Linked DNA regions of Homo sapiens: region 2 is linked to region 1. Evidence: promoter capture Hi-C in 16 types of primary human blood cells and fetal thymus (Javierre and others, 2016). All regions are on one chromosome and are shown on one strand. Each heading gives the region's core, a stretch centred on a gene start or on the middle of the fragment in contact. The rest is flanking DNA. Distances are from core to core; before and after follow the strand shown.

The links. The method cuts DNA at HindIII sites, captures the fragments that hold promoters and counts their contacts. A CHiCAGO score of 5 or more calls a contact.
Region 2: a contact is called between a fragment that was not itself captured here and the fragment with the promoter of UTP14A in region 1, in 13 of 17 cell types (neutrophils, naive CD8 T cells, non-activated CD4 T cells and 10 more). The highest score is 11.2, in neutrophils.

The regions. Positions count from the first base shown.
Region 1 is chrX:129,903,173-129,908,617 of GRCh38, forward strand. UTP14A (UTP14A small subunit processome component) reads left to right here and starts at 2,992. Exons shown (of 15, transcript NM_006649.4): 1 at 2,992-3,064; 2 at 4,195-4,270; 3 at 4,888-4,958. The coding sequence starts at 3,039. LOC105373335 (a long non-coding RNA gene) reads right to left here. Exons shown (of 3, transcript NR_188631.1): 3 at 4,092-5,381. The HindIII fragment of the contact is 20,573 bases long and covers 1-3,424 here.
Region 2 is chrX:130,035,324-130,040,383 of GRCh38, forward strand. It overlaps BCORL1 (BCL6 corepressor like 1), which reads left to right. Exons shown (of 14, transcript NM_001379451.1): 10 at 2,044-2,210; 11 at 3,814-3,959. Among named protein-coding and RNA genes, the nearest start is that of BCORL1, 55 kb to the left of the region's middle. The HindIII fragment of the contact is 5,010 bases long and covers 1-4,418 here.

The sequences.
Region 1 (5,445 bases), core at 1,742-4,241:
CCCAACCCCCCCAAAAAATTATAAAACTAGTAAGTGACAGAGCTAAGATTCAATCCCAGAGTCCAGCTTTAAAACTCAGGTTCTTCATCATGAAATGTATTTATTCGTTCATTCTTCATATTTCATGAGTATGAAAATGCTATAATGCTCCCCCTTTCTATAAGATTACTGCAATACCACAGGCTTCAAATTGCAAAGGTCTGAACTAATACAATGGCAAACATGATGGAGAAAGGTAAGGAGATATTTGAAAGAGACTCAGGGAAGTAAAACTGATAATGTGGGCAAACAGCTGTGGAGCATAAGGGGGAGGGGAATCTAAGATGACTCTCAGACTTCTGATTTTACTAACTGGGTAGTTGATGGGCCAATCATACAAATGGGAAATTCAGGAAAGGAACTCTGGTGGAAAAGATAGAAATTATTGGTCATTTTATGTTTGATGTGCTTGTGGGGCAAAAAGAATAGCCAGGAGGCAATCAGATATACCAGTCTGGAGCTCAAGAAAGAGATTAGGGCTAGAGATATAAATTTTGTTCTCATACAGCTGTTAAAGGCAATTTCACTTAGGAAGAGTATCTGTAATAAATAAAGAGGGCTTAGAGCAGAATTCTCGGAAACATCATCATTTAGGGAGTAAGCATATTAAAAGTATATTAAAAGCATCCAGCAGAGAAGACTGAGGAAGATGGTCATAGGGCTGATACCAGGAGAGAATGGTGTCATGAAATCTCAGGATGGAGTTTCAACAATGACAAAATTGTCTTTAATCCCACTAGAAAGTAAGCTCTAGGAAGCAATGGGACATATCTGCTTTGTTCACCAATGTATTCCCAATGCCTAGAGGCTTGGCACATACTAGATGGCCAAAAATATTTCATGAATAAGAAAACAAATCGGCTGGGTGCGGTGGCTCACGCCCATAATCCCAGCACTTTGGGAGGCCATGGTGGGAGGATCACCTGAGGCCAGGAGTTCGAGACCAGCCTGGCCAACATGGCGAAACTCCATCTCTGCTAAAAATACAAAAATTAGGCTGGGCGCGGTGGCTCACGCCTGTAATCCCAGCACTTTGGGAGGCCGAGGAGGGCGGATCACGAGGTCAGGAGATCGAGACCATCCTGGCTAACACGGTGAAACCCCATCTCTACTAAAAATACAAAAAATTAGCCGGGCATGGTGGCATGTGCCTGTAGTCCAGCTACTCGGGAGGCTGAGGCAGGAGAATCACTTGAAACAGGGAGGCAGAGGTTGCAGTGAGCTGAGATTGTGCCACTGCACTCCAGCCTGGGTGACAGAGCGAGACTCCGTCTCAAAAAAAAAAAAAAAACAAAAATTAGCCAGGCGTGGTGGCGCATGCCTGTAATCCCAGCTACACGGGAGGCTGAGGCAGGAGAATCACTTGAACCCAGGAGGCGGAGGTTACAGTGAGCCAAGATCGCGCCACTGCACTCCAGCCTTGGCAACAAGAGCGAAACTCCGTCTCAAAAAAAAGAAAAGAAAAGAAAAGAAAAGAAAAGAAAAGAAATCAACAGTTACTAAATGCCACACAAAGTTCTGGGAAGCCAAAGACTGAGAGGTATCCGTTTTATTTAGCAACTTTGGGTGTCGCTGATCTTGTCCAGAGCAATTTCTGTGGAATAATGGGGCAAAAGCAAAATGGGAATGGATTACAAGAATGAAAAGAACGGGCCGGGCGCCGTGGCTCACGCCTGTAATCCTAGCACTTTGGGAGGCCGAGACGGGTGGATCATGAGGTCACGAGATCGAGACCATCCTGGCTAACACGGTGAAACCCCGTCTCTACTTAAAAAAAAAAAAAAAATTAGCCGGGTGTGGTGGCAGGCGCCTGTAGTCCCAGCTACTCAGGAAGCTGAGGCAGGTGAATGGTGTGAACCCGGGAGGCGGAGCTTGCAGTGAGCTGAGATCGCACCACTGCATTCCAGCGTGGGCGACGGAGTGAGACTCCGTCTCAAAAAAAAAAAATGAAAAGAATGTTCTTGTCTATTATTTTTCTACAATCATTAATTAATATATATATATATTAGGCCGGGCCCGGTGGCTCACACCTGTAATCTCAGCACTTTGGGAGGCCGAGGCGGGCAGATCACTTGAGGCCAGGAATTCTAGACCAGCCTGGCCAACGTGGCAAAACCCCGTCTCTACTAAAAATGCAAATATTAGCCGAGCATGGTGGCGGGTGCCTGTAATCCTAGCGACTCGGGAGGCTGAGGCAGGAGAATCGCTTGAACCCGGGAGGTGGAGGTTGCAGTGAGCTGAGATCACGCCATTGCACTCCAGCCTGAACGACACAGCAAGGCTCTGTCTCAAAAATAAATAAATAAAATTCTTAAAAGTTGATGGGAGAAAAAAAGTTGTTTAAAAAAATTTTTTTAAGTTGATGGGAGGTGAGGAAGCGTAGTTACTGATGGCCCCTTCTTGGATAAAAAAAATCTTTTGACTCAGGAAATGAAGAACAAAGCTGCAATTACAAGGGATCAAAGGCGATTTTTCCTTAAATGGAAGGAAACTTGTTATGTTCACCATCGGATCTCCGGGGCCCGGCACAATCTGGCCACTTAATAGGCATTCAATAAACCCCCGAGCTGGCTTGTGGTCGGCTTGCAGGACGCCGTCGCACAAGGACGGGCGCTGTAGTCTTTCCTTCTGGATTCTGCAGTGACGAATGAAGGCGCGGGCTCAGCCCCTGAGAGCGCAGCACCGTCGCCCTAAGCTAACCCACCTTGGGCCACGTGGAAACCAGGGGCCAGGAGGACAGACACCCGCGCGCCAGAGAAATACGGGGTGGGTGGAGAAAGGAATGCCCCACCCGCTGACAGCCGTTTCATCTCAGGCCTCCCAGTTTTCTGCAGGCCCCTCCCTACACGGCTCCTGCTTCTCTCACGCCTCGTACGGAACGGAAGTGACGTGTACGTCGCGAGCGATTGACGGAAACAGAAATTGCTTTGCGGCCCGCACGGAAATTGCTTTCCTTCGGCTTCCGTTCTTGGTCCATGTGAGAGAAGCTGGCTGCTGAAATGACTGCGAACCGGCTTGCAGAGAGGTGAAGGGCAACGAGGGGAGGGGGGATTCTGGGTCTCGTTGGGGGCCGGGTTCCCCAGCTTTTGGGAAATGGGAGCCCCCCCTTTAACAGATGGCAGTGGTTCCCCTGAAGAGCTGGCCATTCGTTCCTATTTTCCGCGATCCAGCCTTTAAAGCCCTTTTAATTTAATTTCATTCGCTTACTCCGCTCCTCAGCTGTATAGCCGCATCCCTGTTGGTCCTGATGCTGTTTCTGCCTCCCCAGCTCATTTACTGTGTTTCACATTTTTCGTCACGTGGCCCCTTTTTCTGCCTCTGTCGCGGCCCGATTTAATCCTCTGCGCAGGCAGTGCAGGCGTTATAAACTCCCCGAATCTTGGAAAGCTTTGCTGATTGGAGTCATCCACCACGTTTTGGCTCCTGTGATGTTTTGTGCCCCCCCCACCCCGCCCCCGGAACTAAATGTAGTCCGTTTAGTAATGTTGGCTTTGCAAATACTAATAATATATGCTGTTAGGTAATGGTACATTTTATAATTTGTTTGTGGGTACCAATCTCCTTAGTTAAGCACCTACTTTACTAAGCAAGCCCCAGGGAAAGTGGCTTACCCAGCTGCTTTCGACCTGTTTCTCCATTCCTGGGAACAAGGATCAAGATAACACTTTTGATTAGGCTGCCTATCAATGAGTCAAATATATGGAGGATGCTTAGAAATATTAATCGTGAAACTGCCTTGCCTCCAGGGCTAGCTAGCAACAGCGTCTTTGGCCATATTATTCTAGGGTCTGACATTTTTACAGCTTCCCATAGGTCATAGGAAATGTTGTGCCAATCCCTGAAAAGTGATAGCTCTTTTACATGCAGTTTTGAAGTCAGGCATCACTCTTGGAGGTGATGCCTGACTTCAGTCTAAATTTCACATCTTGACAAGTTTCCAAAGGCATTCACGCTGCTTTATATATCTTCTGAGGGATAGGGCTATTCTGTGCTGAAATTACAATGTTTTCGAGATTGTTTTAATAGATTAGACATTGCTTCAAATAATAATATTTCTTTTTTTAATTTCGACTTTTATTATAATTAAGGGATACATATGCAGGTTTGTTACATGGGTATATTGCATTCACATTTCTCTGTTGCCTCTTTTAACAGCCTTCTGGCTTTGAGCCAACAGGAAGAACTAGCGGATTTGCCAAAAGACTACCTCTTGAGTGAGAGTGAAGATGAGGTGGGTGACAATTGCTAAACTGCCTTCAAAATTAGGGTAGAGAGCACATTCCTGGAATGGAAGGGTGTGACAATGTTCTATGTATTTGTTCAGGTCTCTCAAATAAATTGCAAATGGTTAGTGTTTCATATATAAGATACTGTATCATATTAAGTGCTATGAGGATTTGGAAACTAAGTTACAATCACTACCCTCAAGTTGCATAAGTATAATTTATAAGACCAACCAAAACAGGCCCGGGTGATGGCTCATGCCTGTAATCCCAGCACTTTGGGAGGCCAAGGCGGGCAGATCACAAGGTCAGGAGATTGAGACCATCCTGGCTAACACAGTGAAACCCCGTCTCTACTAAAAATACAAAAAATTAGCCAGGCGTGGTGGCAGGCGCCTGTAGTCCCAGCTACTTGGGAGGCTGAGGCAGGAGAATGGCATGAACCTGGGAGGCGGAGCTTGCAGTGAGCCAAGATAACACCACTGCACTCCATCCTGGGCAACAGAGCGAGACGCCGTCTCAAAAATAAATAAATAAATAACAAGAGATTTTACATGAGACTCAATTTCCATGTTGTCTTTTCCCTCCCCCTCATCCTGATTGTTTTTCCTTTTCTGTGTCTTAGGGGGACAATGATGGAGAGAGAAAGCATCAAAAGCTTCTGGAAGCAATCAGTTCCCTTGATGGAAAGAATAGGTAACGTTCCCGTCAGTTAGGGCAGGTTATATAGTCAATTCCGTGAGATTTCTCTGCAGCTAATATTTATTGAGTGCTTCATGTAAAGACCTTAATACCAGTGCCTAGCATATAGTAAGCATTATATAATTAACTGTTAGCTGTTATTAGTCTTAGTGCTATTATTGTAAGCATTTGCAGTCTTATTCCACACTGAAAATCTTTTAAAGCATTGAGTAGGCATTATTTAACCCCATTAGAGAAATAAATTTACTTACCCCCAAGGTCACCTGGCTCATAAGTTACAGGTTCAGGTGTGTTTGAATCTAAGTCCAATATGTTTTCCACTATGCTTACCTTGTAATAAAGAGAAGAGATGAGGGTTAGACAACCAAGTCCAAGTTAGGAACAGATCTCCTTGCTGCATCATGACAAAACATGACCCTAGAAGAAATACAAGAAACCAAAGCCCTGTTTGAAGAGAGAAGTGTTTGTCTCTCCCAACCCC
Region 2 (5,060 bases), core at 664-3,163, 130 kb after region 1:
ATTCAAACCAAGGTCTTTTGATTCCCAAGTGCCAGGGTAGGTGGAAGACTGACTCATTCACCATAATTCAGTTACACCTTGGACGTTTCCATTGTTCCCCACTTTTTATTGAGTGTGTATCTTTGCCTACCATATGGATTATTTCCTCAGGGTATGCTCCTAGCAGTGGAGTTGCTGGGTTAGTTACAGAGTGTGCCTTTGGTTTTAAGGCTTTCCATCCCTATACCTGAGTTGTTTCACACCAGCCACACTCCCAGCCAGACTGGTCAGCTCTGGGGAGCTGACGTGACAGTGTCTCACTGGCAAGCAGCCCATCTTTCATGAGCACCTAGTGTGCGTGCCTGGATAGCTGCCGAGGGAGACCTAAAACAAAAATCAAGACCAATCCCTGCCGTCAAGGTTAATTTAATTGTCTTGTACCCTGGGCAAAACCAGCCAACAGGAAACCATTGGAGGGGCCAATGGGACAGGGCTGGAGCACTAAGGCAGCCTGTCAGGGAGGGTGGAAGGAGCCCTTTTGGGCCTGGGGGAAGAGGCAGACATCTGCACTGGTGAGGAGGGTGGGAAGCCTCGGGCTTTCTCCCGGGTAAAGGAGCTTGACAGTTTCTATATACAGCCAGCAGCACCCCTGACACAGGCTGCACACACAGCCGCTCTAGCCAGCTAGCCTGTGAGCTGTCAGACAGAAAGGTGGAGTGGCCCATCTCCCCAGTGCCCCAGAGAGGACTGGCAATGGTGCAGCTATGGGATCCATTGTTTGGAAAGCCAGGCAGCCATTAATGCTGCCAGCCTCTCCCCTCCTCACCTCATTCACCCAGCTTCAGCCCATGCTAGCTAGGGTGCTTCAAGTCCCTGGTGTCCCACCTGTAGTCCTAGCATCATCTCAATCCAAGGAAGGCAGTCATTAAAGTGTGGATGAATGGCAGTATTGGATTATCCTTTTTTTTTTTTTTTGGAGATGGAGTCTTGCTCTGTCACCTAGGCTGGAGTGCAACGGTGCAATCTCGGCTCACTGCAGCCTCCACCTCCTGGGTTCAAGGGATTCTCCTGCCTCAGCCTCCTGAGTGGCTGGGATTACAGGCACCTGCCATCACACTGGGCTAATTTTTGTATTTTTAGTAGAGAGGGGGTTTTGCCATGTTGGCTAGGCTGGTCTCAAACTCCTGACCTCAGGTGATCTGCCCGCCTCAGCCTCCCAAAGTGCTGGGATTACAGGCGTGAGCCACTGCACCCAGCCTATTGGATTATCCTGATTTGAGGGGAGGGCTAGAACTGACTGTCCTGGCTTGAACATTGGTCCTGCCGAGACGTGCATCCAGGGATAGTCCTTAAAACAATTGTCTTCCTTATTCTTGAATTGCCACCAGAGGCTGTGCTCTCCACCACATCTCATTTCTCTGGTCTGGGGCTGGCTTGCCAAGCTCAGGGAGTCGAGGTCTGAGTGCTTGAGCTCTGGGCGGGCAGGTCAGCCTCTCTGAGGACCTCACCTCAAATACCACCACCCAGATGAGTGTCCTTGGCCATAAAAAAAGTCTCTCCAGGCCAGGTGCGGTGGCTCACGCCTGTAACCCTAACACTTTGGGAAGCCAAGGTGGGCAGATCACCTGAGTTCAGGAGCTGGAGACCAGCCTGGCCAACATAGTGAAATCTCATCTCTATTAAAAATACGAAAATTAGCCAGGCGTGGTGGCGTGCGCCTGTAGCTCCAGCTACTTGGGAGGCTAAGGCAGGAGAATCGCTTGAACCTGGGAGGCAGAGGCTGCAGTGAGCTGAGATTGCGCCACTGCACTCCAGCCTGGGCAACAGAGTGAGACTGTCTCAAAAAAAAAAGTCTCTCCACTGCCAAGGAAACGGCCCAGAGCTGGGGTCCTGGCAATTGTGGCTCAGGACTGATGTTGTTAATGAAAGATTTTGAAGTGTGTCCCTGCTATAAAGGGCAGGCTCTGAGACTCCTCAGATATTTGGGGAGCTTTGAGTCTCAGGGTTATATAAGTTCAAGAATTAGACCTCTCTTTGCTCATGGAGTTGTCCCTGTCCCCACAGGATGTTGTTCTCTACTGCCTCCAGAAAGACAGTGAAGATGTGAATCACCGTGACAATGCTGGCTACACAGCCCTGCATGAGGCTTGTTCCCGGGGCTGGACCGACATCCTGAACATCCTGCTGGAGCACGGGGCCAACGTGAACTGCAGTGCGCAGGACGGCACGAGGCAAGAGGGCTGCATCTCCCCCCAGTCCCGCCCTCACTCCCAGCTCAGCCTCTCACTCAAAAGACCTTGCCTGCCGCTGGCAGGCATGGTGGCTCACGCCTGTAATCCCAGCACTTTGGGAGGCCAAGGCGGGCGGATCATGAGGTCAGGAGTTCGAGACCAGCCTGGCCAACATAGTGAAACCCCATCTTTACTAAAAATACAAAAATTAGCCGGGTGTGGTGGCATGTGCCTGTAGTCCCAGCTACTAAGGAGGCTGAGGCAGGAGAATTGCTTGAACCCAGGAGGTGGAGGTTGCAGTGAGCCGCGACCATGCCATTGCACTCCAGCCTGGGTGATGGAGACTCCGTCTCAAAAAAACATAAAAAATAAAAAAATAAAGACCTTACCTCAACCTGAACCTTCGTAGCACACCAGACTGCGAGTTGCAGAGAGGCCTTGACAGGAGGAGTTTTGGAAAGACTTCTATAGGCTCAAGAGGGAACCAGTTTAGGGCAGGAGCCAATGAGTTAGTTCCCAGATGGCCAGGCCGCATCAGTTACTAAGGGGAGGCTGTGGTTGTCTAGGGATCATCCCATCATGTGTAGCTGTCACCAGGAAGACCACTCGGTCTTCCCTCAACTCATCCTGGTGGGGGACGTGTCTCAGACAGAATAGAAACTGAGAGGTTGACCTGAGGGTAATATCCAGATTTGATTTTTAAAATTTGATCTCTAGACACTGTAAGAAAAATACACCTGCTGTGTCTTAGAGAAATTGTACCCATTCTCCTCTGTTCTACCAGAGAGCCTACTTCCTGGGCAAATTAGAGACAGGAGCTGCAGATCCAGGAGGGGGCTCCGCTTGGGTTCTGCCTGGCGTGTGGAGCCCTTCTGCTCATCTCTGCTCTCAGGGAGTCACCCAGGGCCTTCAGTTCCCTGAACTGAAGTATCCCTCTACAGTTGCCCCCACCTTTTTTTTTTTTTTGAGATGGAGTCTCACTCTGTCGCCCAGGCTGGTATGCAGTGGCACAATCTTGGCTCGCTGCAACCTCTGCCTCCCGGTTTCAAGCAATTCTCCTGCCTCAGCCTTCTGAGTAGCTGGGACTATGGGTGCCCGCCATGACGCCCAGCTAATTTTTGGATTTTTAGTAGAGATGGGGCTTCACCATGTTGGCCAGGCTGGTCTCAAACTCTTGGCCTCAAGTGATCCACCTGCTTCGGCCTCCCAAAGTGCTGGGATTACAGGCGTGAGCCACCGCGCCCGGCTTCCCTGCAGCTGCCTTAACTTTATTGTAGGTCAGGGACCCATCCTCTAGTGAACTCCACAACTACCAATAGAGCTACATTGTGCCATGGGAACTGTCCCAAGATGTCAGGGGAACGTAAGAGAGAGAGAGTAATGGGAGGGAGGAAAAGGGGGTACAGAGAGAGGAGGAGTTGGGGAGATGGTAGTGGAGAGTTGCAAGGCTACAGGTGGTTCCCTTGTCCTAAGTCTTAAACCATATTACACCAAGGTTACCTGGGGGTCAGCTCAGTTTTTTCCCCTGATGCAGTAGCCTTAAGTGTAGACACCCCAGTTCCCACTTGGGCCCTGTTATCCTCACCCTGTATCACCTCCACAGGCCAGTTCATGATGCGGTGGTCAATGACAACCTGGAGACCATCTGGCTCCTGCTGTCCTATGGGGCCGATCCCACACTGGCTACCTACTCGGGTCAGACAGCCATGAAGCTGGCCAGCAGCGACACCATGAAGCGCTTTCTCAGTGGTAAGCATGGTCCAGACTTGACACTGTTGTCCTTGGGGCCAGCCTCTGATTCCTGAACTTGTGAGGACATCCTCTTCATCTCCTTCCACCTTGAACAGCTCCCATGAGGGCCATCTGCCCTCTTCACCTGCTTTCATTCAAAGAGCTCAAGAATCTCAGTTTGCTTGAAAAAGTCCAAAGGCCACTTCCTCTTATCCCCTTACTGCAAGTGTGTGCGTCCTCTTCAGGGCCCTGGGAGCCCACAGGGACCTATTTCGTAGCTAGGGATCTAGGGTGGGCCTCTGTGTGGGGGCGGCAGCCCCACTAGTAGACCTAGCTGGGGGCAGAATGTGTTGACCTGTGCTTTGAATGGGATGTCAGTTGCAACAAAGTGATACTTAGCATTTTGCTTATGTGTTTGCAATTTCTTCTTGTTTGTGATCAAGTGGATCACAGTGGAACCCCTGGGATGCTTCCCGAAGCTTCATTCTTTACAGCCCTTGCCTGTGGGAACTGTGATGTTCCCTCTGCATCCCAGGGTCCCCCTTCCTTCCGTTCCTTTTCCTCCCTCACCTGCCCCTTCTGTAAAGTGTCTGGTGTTGAGGCCCATGGCAAGGGCCACAAGCCAACATGCATTTATTTTCTCATTAGTGGATAGCAGCTGTTTGTCTGCAGTTAGATAGCTCTACTGAGTTGGGCAGGGGGAGGAGGGAAGGAGGGGAGTCTAGCTTGGGCATGCTCAGTAGGAATCTCCTCAGACTTGACCTCTGAATAAAGGAACCCTGCCTCTTAGTGACATCACAGTTTGGCCCTTGCTCTAGCAGTGACTTCTTCAGACTGCCTGAGCGGCGGAGCAGCTGGGAGTTGTATCTCTGAACCTTCTTGGAGGCTGCAGTGTTTGTATTGTGGTTAGAACCCCTCTCTGGCCAGGAGCCAACAGGACTAAGGATTGGCCCAAAGCTGCTCCCTCTTCTCACCCAGACTTTGGCCCTAGTTAGCCCCGAACCTCTATACCTCCAGATATATGGTTCCAGGCTCCCAACCAGGGGCTCATTTGTTTATCCAACAAAGGTTAACTAAGTAGCTGATGATGGAGGAAGAAACAAAGGGGACCTAACTAAA